3 separate regions of the Homo sapiens genome follow, and all the other regions are linked to region 3. The links are contacts of gene promoters, found by promoter capture Hi-C in blood cells and fetal thymus (Javierre and others, 2016). All regions are on one chromosome and are shown on one strand. Each heading gives the region's core, a stretch centred on a gene start or on the middle of the fragment in contact. The rest is flanking DNA. Distances are from core to core; before and after follow the strand shown. Region 1 overlaps FAM91A1 (family with sequence similarity 91 member A1). Region 2 overlaps FAM91A1 (family with sequence similarity 91 member A1). Region 3 holds the start of WASHC5-AS1 (WASHC5 antisense RNA 1).

Region 1 (4,513 bases), core at 1,826-4,325, 1.2 Mb after region 3:
TGTGTGCAGGTACTTGCATATGCATAAAGACACTCTGGAAGGATATAGGAGAAATGAACAGATGAAATTATCTGATTTGGAGGAGAGATGGGGAGTGGAAACTTGATAGGGTTAGCAGGGGAGTGATACTTTTCGACCTATACCTCTTTTTTTTTTTTTTTTTTTTTTTTTTTTTTTAAAACAGAGTCTTGCTCTGTTACTCAGACTGGAGTGCAATGACACAATTTTGGCTCACTGCAATCTCCACCTCCCAGGTTCAAGCAATTCTCCTGCCTCAGCCTCCTGAGTAGCTGAGATTACAGGCGCCCGCCACCACACCCGGCTAACTATTTTTTTGTATTTTTAGTAGAGACTGGATTTCTCCATGTTGGCCAGGCTCATCTTGAACTCCTGACCTCAGGTGATCCACCTGCCTCAGCCTCCCAAAGTACTGGGATTACAGGTGTGAGCCACCGCGCCCAGGCTCTACACCTTTTAATAACGTTTTATTTTTGAATCATGTGAATGTACTATTAGTTCAAAAATTAAATTTAAAAAATCTGAGTCTACCCACTTCACTCTCATGTTACAAATGATAATTCAGTTTCATCTATCACATTCAATTAATATTGTTCATTTGAGTTTTGTTTTAAAGCTTTGCTTATATTTAATTCCAAAATTTGATTTGAATTTGTAGTTGTGTAATAACAAGAAGCATGAAGAACTTAACATTATGTCTACATGTATTTAGAACTGTTACAATAGAAATTTAATACTGAGGATCTCCAAATTCTTCCCTTTAAGAGAGACCCATACATTATTCAAATTCAAGAAACCCTGATATATCCAAAGGAAAGCATACTCTTTTTGTTGTTTCATATAACTATTTAAATATATTTCTGAGAGCTCTCTTTTATTTCCTAAACCTGATGGCTAAAATAAATTATGGTTTTAACCAAAAATCTTAATTTGTAACACGTTTAAATTCCAATAAGGTAAATTTATTTCCATCAAATTTAATTAAAAAGGCATTTTTCTTTAGCAAAAGCAAAACTCCTTAACAAACACTTTAAAAACAGTACTGTCAGCCTGGTGTGGTGGCTCACACCTGTAATCCCAGCACTTTTGGAGGTCAAGGCGGGCAGATCACTTGAGCCCAGGAGTTTGAGACCAGCCTGGGCAACATGGTGAAACCCTGTCTCTATAAAAAATTAGCCAGGCATGGTGGCGTGAGCTTGTAGTCCCAGCTACTCTGGAGGCTAAGGCAGGAGGATCTCTTGTGCCCAGGGGAAGTCGAGGCTGCAGTGAGCTGTGATCATGCCACGGACTTCAGCCTGGGTGACAGAGTGAGACCGTGTCTCAAAACAATAAATAAATAAAAACAGGTACTGTCTGCTGATTTGTTTTTCTATCCATATTTTGCACTAGCCCCCATCCAAAAAAAAAAAAAACCTAACTTAGCTTGATCTACAGAGTACCACCTACAGAAAAGACCTTGGAAACCACCTCTCTCATTTTACTTTATTCAAGAAAGATTTGTTACTATAAATTAAGACAGGGTTTCACTATGTTATCCAAGTTGGTCTCCAACTTCTGGGCTCAAGCAATTCACCTCAGCCTTCCAAAGTGCTGGAATTACAGGCGTGAGCCACTGCACCCAGCCACCCTTCATTTTAAAGGTAAGGAAAACTGAAGCTCGTGGAATCACCCACTGTTCCTTCACTCTACTTCTACTGCCACTACCAACACAATAACGTTTTCTGAGATCTTCCTATGTGCTAAACACAGTGCTCAAGTCATTCTTTTCAAAAACTTTAAAAAGATGGGAACTTTATCTCCAGTTTATAGGTAAAGACACTAAAGTTCAAAAAGGTATTTAACTTGTCTAAGATTACTAGTAAATGATGGAACCAAGATCTGAGTTTAGGCAGTCTGACTTAAGTCCATGTCTAGCCCATTCTATGATGCTATCTCCCACGACCACCCCATACTATATATCTTCCCTGGCTAATTTCATCCTCTCATGGTTTCAACTACCATCTACCACCTGATGCTGACACTTAATCACTCTTGTCTAACCTCTCATTTGAATTTCAGAATATTTCCAATTACCACAGGCACCATATAAACACAACACATCATCTGCCCCATAAATGTGCTCTTCCTCCCGTGTTCCCCAGAGTAGTGGTATCACCACCTCCCATGATATCACTTCCTCCCGTGTTCCCTAGAGTAGTGATATCACCACCTCCTGTGATGTCACTTCCTCCTATGTTCCCTACAGTAGTGGTATCACCACCCTTCTACCTTCACAAGTCAAATACCCCAGAATCTTTCTTCCCTCTTCCCATCTCTCTCAGATATCTGATCAATTCTATTAATTGTATATTTGTAGTAGTTCTTAAATCCATTTTTCCTTTCAATTCTTATTACCATGTCCTTGATCCGGGCTATCTTTATCTCTTATCTAAACTACTACACACAGTCCTAACTGGTCTTCTTGCTTCAGGTGTCTCCCCACTCCCTCCCATTCTCAATATCATCCCAAGGTTGATTCCTGAAACAAATTTGACCATGTTAATCCCTGTTACCCCCCTGTAATTGCTACCATCAATCTACAGGTCAACTTCTCAGTTCCACGGCAGGACACTCAAGGCAGGCGGCACTGCAGGGCCAGCCTACTTCTCCAGACTTGTCTCTGACCACAACCCCCTCACACTCCAACTCACCCCTCAAAAACACTGAACAGCTTATTGACCCTGGCATGTTATGTCACTTCATATTCTTATTTATTTATTCCACAAACACTAACTGGACAACTACTATGACCCAAGCACCGTGCTGGGCACTAGAAAAATAGCAGCAAAGAAAAAAGAAAAAAAAAAAAATCCTTGCCCAGAGATTTAATCATGCTGACCCCTACTACCTCGCTTCTTTTAAGTCATCCTTTTGTATTCAGCCTGGGTCTCACTTTCTCTAAGGAACCTCCCCTAAGCCCTTCTCCTTGCCCCAAGGCTGGACTGGATAGTTCTTTTTAAGTCTTCCACTATATGTAATTCTATTCGATAAACTGAAACTGAGTGCTTATGCAGCTTTTCCCACCATCCTTAAATTCCTTGAAGATGAGGGGCCCTGTCTTATTTGCATATTGATATTAATTAGCGCAAAATATGCACATTCAATTGTTAGATGAACTGACGAAATCTTTACGGAGAACCTATTATGTGCCAGCAAGTGTGCTACACATTTGACACGTACATTTTCATTTCATTCTCTCAATTCTATGAGCATAAACTGCTTACCTTACCACTAGTTGCCATTATTATAAGTGTTTGTTATTATACAATAGATATTGCCATCTCCATTTTATAGGTGGGAAATAAAGTATAAGGTTTATCATGAAAATGTCACACAGCCCAATAAGCACATGCAAAGAAGCTCAACATTATTAGTCTTCGGGAAAATGTAAATCAAAACTATAATGAGATACCATTCCACACCTCCTAAGGTGGTTATCATCAAAAAGCCACATAATATCAAGTGCCCGTGAGAATGTAAAATGATGCAGCCACTTTGCAAGACAGTCTGGCAGTTCCTTAAATGCTTAAACATGGAATTACCATATGACCCAGTAATTCCATCCCTATACATATATAGCCAAGAGAAATAAAAACATATGTCCACAGAAAAACTTGTACACAAATGTTTATGACAGCATTCTTCATAATGGCCAAAAGGTGAAAACAACCCACATGTCCATCAACTGATGGAGGAATAAACAAAATGTGGCATATCCATAAAATGGAACATTATTTGGCCTCAAAAAGGAATGAAGTATTGATACTATGACAACATGATGAACCTTGAAAACATTATGTTAAATGAAGGAAGCCAGTCACAAAAGACCACATATTATATATGATTCCATTCACATAAATGCCCAGATTCGGCAAATCTATAGAGACAACAAGTAGATTAGTGTTGCTTAAGACTAGAGGGAAGGAGATGAGTAGCGGGGAGAAAATAGAAGAGTGATCACTAAAGGATACAAGGTTTCTTTTTAAGGTAATGAAATGTTCTAAAATTGAGTGTGGTGATGGCTGTACATATCTGTGAACACACTAAAACCCACTTAACTGCACAATTTAAATTGGTGAATTGTACAGTATGTGAATTATATACTCAATACAATAGTCCCCTTTTATGTGAGGTTTTGCTTTCCATGGTTTTAGTTATCATCTGTGGTCAACCAAGGTCTGAAAATAGGTGAGTATAGTATAACGAGGTATTTTGAGAGAGACCACATTCATATAACTTATATTACAGTATGCTATTTTCTTATTAGTAATTGTTGTTAATCTCTAGTAAGAGATGTCTAATTTATAAATGAAACTTTATCCCAGGTATTTATATATATATATATACATATAGGAAAACACGTACTATATATAGGGTTGGGTACTACTGGTGGTTTCAGGCAACCCCTGGGGGTCTTGGAACATATTCCCCACAGATGGGGAAACTACTGTAAAGC
Region 2 (4,550 bases), core at 229-2,728, 1.3 Mb after region 3:
GCCCAATCGGCAATACATTGAAACAGCATTCTGAAAGGAATATAAAGGAAACTAATTACCATTTAAAATAAACTAGACATCACAATATTTGTAGAGAAAAAATAGTGTAATAGACTAATAGTGATTCTCAAACATTTTCATCCCGTAACCAGAAACTATTTTCAGTAGACCTGCTCCTCCCTTGAAGTCTTCATAAATGTATAGGAGGGAATGTTTCCAACTCTCTGGCCTTGCCCTCCCTACATCTACCCCTAATGAAGCAGGAGTTGTTGCTTTAACGGACCTCACTACAAGATACTGCTTGGGCTGCTTCTTGCATGAGTGCTCTCTTTTCAGTCCATGTGTTTGAATCCCAATTTAGGGCCCCTTTTCCTGCTCTTTCCTGTCTTTGCAAGTGCCCCTTTACTGTGCACGTTCTCTCAGACAGCTAACAACAATCTCAATGTCTTCGTTTCTCAGTAGCTTATCAAGATAAAAATCTACTAGTAAAATCCACTCAGTTATCACATCACCAGTAAATGAGTATAAAAATAACATACCTTAACCAGGGATAAGTCAATCTCAAGGACATTTGCAAGCTAGAAGATAAAATTAAAATTTATTTTTACATTCTTAGAATTAACAGCACATTACACAGTTGTAATAGACCAATATAATCATAATCAGCAAAATTTTAAGTTATGAATAATTAGAAGACTGAATAAATTTTGAATTCAGAACTTTCTTCTTTCCCTATCTCTAAGATCCTTATAGTACAAATCCATGGAGTGACCATAACAATTTAAGATTCCTTACTCTTTAATTTCGTCTCATTTAAAATAAAATTCCTGGATAGATCAATATAGTCTACAATACTTTAGTACAAAAAGTCATATAAAAAGTTAACCAAACTATAAATTATTAACTTAAATTTTAATATACATTTATAAGAACGTTAAGAATAATGACATTTAAGTGTAATAATGGTATGATCTCCCCACATGGAGATTTTAAAAAGATACTACCATATTAAATAACTTTACTTACTTTACACAAACTTACAATCTTGAGATTATATTTTCATGAGACGTTGTCAAACTTACCTCTGCAACATTTGTGTGCTCATCTATTGAAACAAATATCTTATAGAGTAGAGTTTCAAAATAATCACCTTGCACTCGATTCATTACAAAACCTTCAAGAGGTGGAACTAAAACAAACAGAAGAGATTTTTCTCAGTGGTACAGATTTTATAAAACAAGAAAGTATAATTTACATATCTAATTAAAAAAAGAAACCTCTAACTTAGGGACTGAATGCAGCTTTTGATTTATTTATCCACTCCATAGCAAGTTTTCTGAAACTCTACAATACGTACACAGAGAAGACTCTGAAGGTAGACACGAAATCCACAGAGTTCATTTAATTCACCATGGAACTCAGAGTTACTGAGACAGGTAACTCAGAAATGCTGGATGACATGGACTTGGTAGAAGGGTGAGGGAACAGGGGCTGCTTCAGAATGGGGGAGCCTGCAAAGGGTTTCTGATACATGTGTTTTTGATGCCTCATAGGCAGCAGGGGTGAGTGGGCCAAAGCTGAAAAGCAAATGACTGCAAGAAAGAGTTGCTACGCTATACGAAAACCAGGTGGATGCAAAGTATTGGCTCTGTCTCCCCATCATCCCTACTCCATCCTAAAAATGGAAATTCATCTGCATGACCATCATGTTTACCAGAAGTCACTGGGCTAACTCGTTCTTTGGGGCTTTCTTTTCTGGTATCCTCCCCAGTGGGCCTCAGTGGCAACAGGGTCAAGATCCCCTTTAGCACAGTGGGCAGCCCAACCATCACTCTCCACCTGAATGTTCATTCATACTCACTTCTATCTCTTTGGTCCAAATGTTCTAATCTGATTTACCAAAGTGCTCTGCCCAGCCAATAAAAAACAAGCTCTATGCTTTCCTTTGCCATTCTCCCCTGTGGGTACATTCACCCTGAAAATATCCTGAGAAGGAGGAATGCCTAGGCCATAGTAGCATTTGGGTATCTTTATGTCCCCTGGCCCTAATATCATCTAATTGTACCCAAAAATTTAAATTATTCCTAATAGTGAAAAATAAGACAAAATTCAAATGGTCAAAACTGAGACACTGAAAAACTACAATGTACATACATCTGAGGATAGGTTATTCACTTTACAGATCTGGCTCATGTCATTTTCTAATTTAGTACTACCTATATTTCTAGTCATCTAGGTACTTTTAATGATCAATGGTTTCTTTTTAGAAATATTTTAGAAATCCCGTCTTTGACAACATTAATTATTTCCCTACACTATCAGCTATGTAAATAATAATAGCATTTATTGAATGCTTACTAAGTGCTAGGCTATTACCAAGTACTTTATATATACATTTTCATTTAATCCTCCTAACTCCGTGGGTTGTACAGTAGTATAATTACCCCTATTTTTAAATGTATCTATTTATTTATTTATTTATTGAGACAGGGTCTCACTCTGTCACCTAGGCTGGAATGCAGGGTGGGGATTGTGGCTTACTGCAGCTTCGACCTCCCAGGCTCAAGCAATCCTCTTGCCCCAGTCCCCCAAGTAGCTGGGACTACAGCCACATGCCAACACGCATGACTAATTCTTTTCATTTTTATTTTTGTAGAGAAGGGGTCCCTTTATATTGCCCAGGCTGGTCTCGAACTCCAGGGCTCAAGCAATTCTCATACCTTGGCTTCCCAAAGTACTGGGATTACAGGTGTGAGCCACTGTGCTTGGCCAGTTACCCCCTATTTTGAGAGATAAAGAAACCAAGGCACTATGAGATTAGAAATTTTCCTAGGCCAAAATTTGTATCTAAGCAAAAAGAGTAAGGTGACTCTACATGAAGAAATTTGAAACAGTGCTAGCATTTGTCCAAATGCTATTGGTTATCCAAAGAGAAGAAAAATAAGTTGAACCCTTATTCCACATCAAATATGAAAATAAGTTCCAAACAAACTGCAAATTTAAATATATACGACAAAAGTTCTCAAGAATTTTCAGACTATTTCTATATCCTACAGGTATTCCATTCAAGCATAACAGAAATCAGGAAGCTATAAAAGACACACAAAATACAGTTAGAAAATTTGATGAATAATGGAATAAATTTATTTAATAATAGAGCCTTTCATGATTACTCCCTTAAAAGTATTTCTGATCTCCATTTATATTTATATCACCAACCATAGTGCTTGTTTGTTTTGTTGTTGAAACGTATCTGAAATGCCTCTTTTGAAATCACATTCAGGTATTATTTGTACTGAATTTGATGCCTTCCATGTTGTCAAAACTGTTTTTATGTGTTTATTCTAATTTGGGGAACAGCCAAAGAGGTAACATGGTGACAAGGGTAAGTTTAGCAATTATCATCCCATGGGTCTGTCTGTACCACCAAATACCAGCAGCTACTAAGTGAAGTATGGTAGAACACATCAATGTAATGGGGCAGCCATCCATCTGGCCCTTCTCTGACTGCTTTTTTCAAATGAATTTAGTTTAGCCATAAGTAATATTAAAAGTTACTCTAATGTGAGTCAATGTTCAAACTGACAGTCAAACTGGACTGAAATGAACTAGTCAAAGACTAATCTTTTTATTAATAGGTGGATCTCAAATGAATCAACGTCAGCTTATCTGATGACAGTAGGCACTAGAGTAATACTTTCATATTTTCCAACTGTGACAGGAAATCACGGCCACCTCTGTCTTCAGAAATCATTTCCTTGTCAAATCTTTCTCATTTTAAAACTAGTATTTTGTTACGGCATCAACTATACAAACGCAAATTAGTATTTCCTGTACTTTTTAAGGTATCTTTCCAAGCTTAAAATAGGATGCAGGCCGGGCATGGTGGCTCACGCCTGTAATCCCAGCACTTTGGGAGGCCGAGGCGGGCAGATTGCTTGAGGTCAGGAGTTCAAGACTGGCCTGGCCAAAATGGTGAAACCCTGTCTCTATGGGTTTTACCTGTAGAGTAAATTAGCCAGACGTGATGGTGGGTGCCTATAATCCCAGCTATTCGGGAGACTGAGGCAGGAGAATCGCTTGAACCCAGGAGGCAGAGGTTGCAGTGAGCCAAAATCATGCCACTGCACTCCAGCCTGGGCGATAGAGCTAGAATCCGTCTCAAAAAAAAAAAAAAAAAAAAATTCACATATGCACAAGGTTTAAAATGTGTTATTAAAGAATCACAAACATATGCCAACCCAAAGGTCTGGACACGCTACAGCATGATATCTTGTCAAGATTCAACACTGATATAAAGAAGTATTTCTGTAATAAGCCCTATCACCACTAATTTGTTAATATTAGGGTCATTCTCTGAAATTTTTTGACACTTTATATTTGATTACACAAATATTCAATATCTAAGTATAATAAAACACAAGAACAATAGTTAAAAGATATGCCACAAGACATACTTGTAACATATAACCTGAACATAGTAAGTGCTTCTATAAATTGGTAAGAAATCTAACCTATAGAAAAAAAAGCATCACTCTGTATTCAAGGAT
Region 3 (4,954 bases), core at 1,581-4,080:
TTTTTACATAACAAAGTTCATTTATACACACCTCATCTGCTCCAAGCTGCTGTTAGAACAGAACATTGTCTCTCTGCCCTCTTGTGTCTGCATAGATGTTAGGAAGCCAGGTTCTTTGGGGCATAAATTATCCTTATACTCTGCAGAAAGCAGTCTTACTTTGGAAATGAATAAGAAAGACGAAGAGATTAATTTGCTGGATGGAAGTCTAACTTATTTTAGAATCCAGCTGCCTAGTTTCCTGCCTTTACTCGGCAGTAGGAGCTCCCAGGGACCCCTGCATCTTCTGCGAGTCTTCTTTCATCATCTGATAATCTGAGATCATCACAGCCCATTCTTGCACACCCATTATACCCAGGGCATTGTCAGTTGCTGTGAAAGACAGAGTTAAATGAAACATGACCGGTCTCCTTAGCTAACTCACAATCTAGCAGGGAAGAGTAGACTTCCTGGTAGAAAACTGGTTTGTGGTCAAAAATATCACATACTGTAGAAAAGTCTAGAATTCTAGAATGCTAAGGGAATTTTGAAAAGTTCCATTCTCTGATTCCCAATTATATAAGTTTCTCATTGAGACAGCACTCATTGGTATCTTAGCCAAATTCACAATATATTTCCCATAATTTTGGTGAGTGGTTGTTGTTGTTGTTGTTGTTTGGATCATTAAACAGAACAGGTAAGGCAAGGAGCCCATGGCTCTGCTAGATATCCTCTCGTGATGTGGGTCTGCCTTCCCCTAGCCTCATGATTGTCAGATATTAAGCGCTTCCCAGGCCAAGTTTCTAATTGCTGGAAAACCCTTTAGGAGGAATAAAGAATCACCCGAGTTTGGACAGGTGTGAGTCCCAACTCTGTAGGAGGCGTTAGGGGGATTACAGGGATTCTTCCAAGAAACTGGAAGGTTTTCCCCTTGCTTACTGGAGGGTTCTCAGTCCAGTAGCTATTCCAACTATTGGTTATAGTTGCCAGTAATTCAGTAACAGCCACGTGACTGTGACCGAGTCAGTGATCTTTAAATAAAGCCCCAAAGGACAAATTTGTCTTTTTGTCTTGAATTAGGGTGCGTACAGTCACGGAGCCAGTGTTAATAATCTGGAACAACAATGGAAATGTTCTGTGCTATTCGATGATGACAGCAGCTCCTAGCCCTGTGTAGCTATTGAGCTCATGAAATGTGGGTTGTGGGACAGTGAAATGCAATTTTTAATTTTATTTCATATTAATTTAAATATAAATAGCCACACATCGCTAGGAGCTGCTGTACTCAATAGTGCAACTCTAGAAAAATCTTGGAGAAAGAGTGATAAGCCAGATATCTCCAAAGAGGCAAATGAGTAGGTAGAATAAGTTTCTCATCCATCCCAGGCTCCTTAGCCTCTTCAGCAGCTTATTAAAGCTTGAAGTGCGTGAGTACCAAAAATAGAAAATGTCACTAACAAAGATTCATTGTGCAGTAAACGAGAGCAAGTTATATTAAACTGACTTTATTTCTATTTCCAGTTCTAGATTGATATTTTCAAGAGGATCCTTGACACAGAGTATACTACACATAGAAAATTAAGCAAAGAATTATATGGGCCAGATACAGGGTTTCAGGGACATTTTTATGTGGCCTGAAAGAACCTACTATTTTCTTGGATTTGCTGCATTCTAATTTTTAAATAATGCTACTCTATAAATTCAAACACTTCCTATTTATAAATAGCATTTTTGGATTGACGTTTTTCACATAAATAGAGTAATAGTCTTGTATGAATAGTGGTCAAAAATAATACATCTGAGGTCATTTAATACTTTTGACCATTACAAGCTCCATTTAGCTAAGTAACTTTTGCTCATTCTTAGAGAAGGCCACCCTCCTTTTCTTTTTTTTTTGAGACAGTCTCACTCTGTCGCCTGGGCTGGAGTGCAGTGGCACAATCTTGGCTCACTGCAACCTCTACCTCCTGGGTTCAAGTGTTTCTCATACCTCAGCCTTCCAAGTATCTGGGATTACAGGTGTCCACCACCATACCCAGCTAATTTTTTTATTTTTAGTAGAAACAGAGTTTTACCATTTTGGCCAGGCTTGGTCTCGAACTCCTAGCCTCAAGCGATCAGCCTGCCTCGGCCTCCCAAAGTGCTGGGATTGCAGGCGTGAGCCCCTGTCTTTTCCTTAACTCTTCTCTGCCCCCAGCAACTCAGAGGAAATGCATTTATTTCCACCTTATTGCTGCTTGCATTATAATACTGTCTTCCCTCCTCTCCCCACCTCCCTCACTCCCCTTTGCCAGTCTTTTAGGAATACTTTGTCCGAGTAGAAAAGAAGACATTTATAGGCAGAAAAAGTTAGAGTGTGCTGTTGACCTTATGATGCAGACAACATTATGAGGGCAAACTGAACTCTCAAGCCTGACCCAAAGATCGCTTCCTATCATCCAACCATTGCAGATAATCTCCAAGTATCATTTATGCTCATAGCTACTTTTAAAGTACTGTAGTTAATACACCATCCTAGCATAACTCTATATCACAGATTTGTTCTTTGAATGGTTAATTATATTTCATTACAACTGGCTTCCACTGTTACCCTCTATGTTTTATTTTGTACATTCAAAAACGTTATTCTGAAATGGTGTCCATAGGCTTCACCAGATTCCCAAAGGGGTCCAAGGCTATATTAGTCAATTCTCACATAATAAAGACATACTCAAGACTGGGTAATTTATAAAGGAAAGAGGTTCGATTGACTCACAGTTCAGCATGGCTGTGGAGGCCTCAGGAAACTTACAACCATGGTGGAAGTGGAAGCAAACATGTCCTTCTTCACATGGCAACAGGAAAGAGAAATATAATCAAAAGGAGAAAAGCCTCTTATAAAACCATCAGATCTCGTGAGAACTCATCCACTATTACGAGAACAGTATGGAGGTAACCACCCCCATAATTCAATTACCTCCCACTGGGTCCCTCCCATGACACATGGGGATTATGGGAACTACAATTCAAGATGAAATTTGGGTGGGGGCACAGCCAAACCATATCAGACACACAAAAAAAATTAAGAACCCTGGATTAAGGGGCTATCATTGTTAAAATTTTCGTGAAAGATTTTATGTAGATTATTTTGTAATCCAGATAATTATAGAACCTATAATCCTGAGTGGCATGGACAGACTTAATATTCACCCAATTTGAGAATACTAGTGTGAAATGGCATTCCTAGAGCTTGAGAAAGTTCCATTTAGGATAAATAAAAGGAAGTAAGTAAGACTTCTCACAGCAGCTACTAAATTTGGAGCACTTATTCCAAAAGGTTAAAAATATAGCTTCAAAAAAGACATCTTTGATACATGAACAACTGAACATTAATAGATCACTTTGTGAATCATAGACTTTGGGGTATTTTTAGGTTGGGGTATGGGAATCCATCCAGACATTCCTTGAAGGGCCTCTGGTGCTTCATTAGATCCAGTGCTGGTCTTAGCCAAGAGATCAGTTCAGGAAATCCTTATTTTTTTTCCTGTAGAGTGATGTGAAGGCCCAGTGAAGAATTGTCATCTTTGTGTTTACCTCCTCACTGTCACTCTGAAATGCTTGAATGCACTACCTGTTCTTTCTCTTGCTTGTGCACAGGTTGGGCAGATGCAGATTCTGAGACAACAGATTGCCAATGAATTAAATTATTCTTGTCGGTTTGATTCTAAACATCTGGCAGCTGCTCTGGAGAATCTCAATAAGTAAGTGCCAGGGTTTGAAACAGCCATCCGTGGGCTTGGATTGTTTATTATCTACGCACCCCAGTTTCTTCAGTTCTTACTCTTTTAAGTTATTTTTGGGTGGAAGGTCTGAATTTACAGGCTTCCTTGCCACGGATAATCAAATCTGTCTTCGGAGCCTCTTTCCTCAGTATTGTCCCTCCGTTTATCTCTGTCTCTCACTCACTCTCTCTAATGGATTCGTGTATTCAGCAGACAGGTACTGATCACATGATTCAATACATGTCTGCTGAACAAATGAATTCATTAGAGAGAGCGAGTGAGAGACACACCAGACACTGCTAGATACTTGCACAGATTTTAGAAAGCAATTATTACCAAAATCCGCAACTGGCTTTTTACAGGGCTGATCACTCATCATCCAGAGGGCAGTTGGAAGTGTGTTGATTACCAAGAGTGGTTATGGAGGCCTGTCCTAGAGGGAACTCATATCCTCCGCCTCACCAGCAACCTGCTGTCATTTGAGGCTGCCTACTTACAGATAAATAATCTGTGCTTCTCACTCACCAAGTCAGTGCTTTTGACAAAGCAGGTATTAAGAACAGTTCAGTCAATACATGAAAATTTGAATGGTGAATGCATTTGATTGAGGTTGATTCCAAAAGATGAAGTAATTCTAGGTCAAATTTTCCACTTAAAACCAATCACAGGCATGGTTGAGAATTAGCGAGATCAAGCTCTCATTTTACAGATGAGGAAACTGAGGCTTGAAAAGATTACATCACTGCCCTATATTAACTCTTGTATAAATTCATTTACTCACTAATGTTTATCTCCAGGGTTTTTCTTCCTTTAGGGCTCTCCTAGCAGACATTGAAGCCCACTATCAGGACCCTTCACTTCCTTACCCCAAAGAAGATAACACACTTTTATATGAAATCACAGCCTATCTGGAGGCAGCTGGCATTCACAACCCACTGAATAAGGTGAGTAATTAAAATATATAATGGCGGGGATGGGGGTACAGAATGGTATTTGGCCCAGGTAACAGATTACTGTGCAGAAATACCAGAGGAACCTGGGTTCAGACCCCAGAGCCTTCATTCCATTCAGTTCCCTGCCCTTTCTAAGCAATCATCACACTTTCCCCGCCTGGCTCAGGTCTGTGAGAATCAAGTGCTATAGCGCTGGTGAAAGCTCATGACAAAGGGGAAGGTGCTGCCTCCGTGTAAGAGATTAGTTTTGGGTTTCACTGG

The links. The method cuts DNA at HindIII sites, captures the fragments that hold promoters and counts their contacts. A CHiCAGO score of 5 or more calls a contact.
Region 1: a contact is called between a fragment that was not itself captured here and the fragment with the promoter of WASHC5-AS1 in region 3, in 2 of 17 cell types (M2 macrophages and monocytes). The highest score is 8.4, in M2 macrophages.
Region 2: a contact is called between a fragment that was not itself captured here and the fragment with the promoter of WASHC5-AS1 in region 3, in 3 of 17 cell types (M2 macrophages, neutrophils and monocytes). The highest score is 8.5, in M2 macrophages.

What each region holds. Positions count from the first base shown.
Region 1 is chr8:123,800,155-123,804,667 of GRCh38, reverse strand. The region is part of intron 18 of FAM91A1 (family with sequence similarity 91 member A1); the gene reads right to left. Among named protein-coding and RNA genes, the nearest start is that of FAM91A1, 34 kb to the right of the region's middle. The HindIII fragment of the contact is 4,877 bases long and covers 637-4,513 here.
Region 2 is chr8:123,781,109-123,785,658 of GRCh38, reverse strand. It overlaps FAM91A1 (family with sequence similarity 91 member A1), which reads right to left. Exons shown (of 24, transcript NM_144963.4): 9 at 1,083-1,189; 10 at 540-578; 11 at 1-30. Among named protein-coding and RNA genes, the nearest start is that of FAM91A1, 15 kb to the right of the region's middle. The HindIII fragment of the contact is 4,765 bases long and covers 1-3,860 here.
Region 3 is chr8:125,038,560-125,043,513 of GRCh38, reverse strand. It overlaps WASHC5-AS1 (WASHC5 antisense RNA 1), which reads right to left and starts at 2,830. Exons shown (of 2, transcript NR_170219.1): 1 at 2,735-2,830. It overlaps WASHC5 (WASH complex subunit 5), which reads left to right. Exons shown (of 29, transcript NM_014846.4): 24 at 3,616-3,719; 25 at 4,555-4,684. The HindIII fragment of the contact is 6,314 bases long and covers 1,399-4,954 here.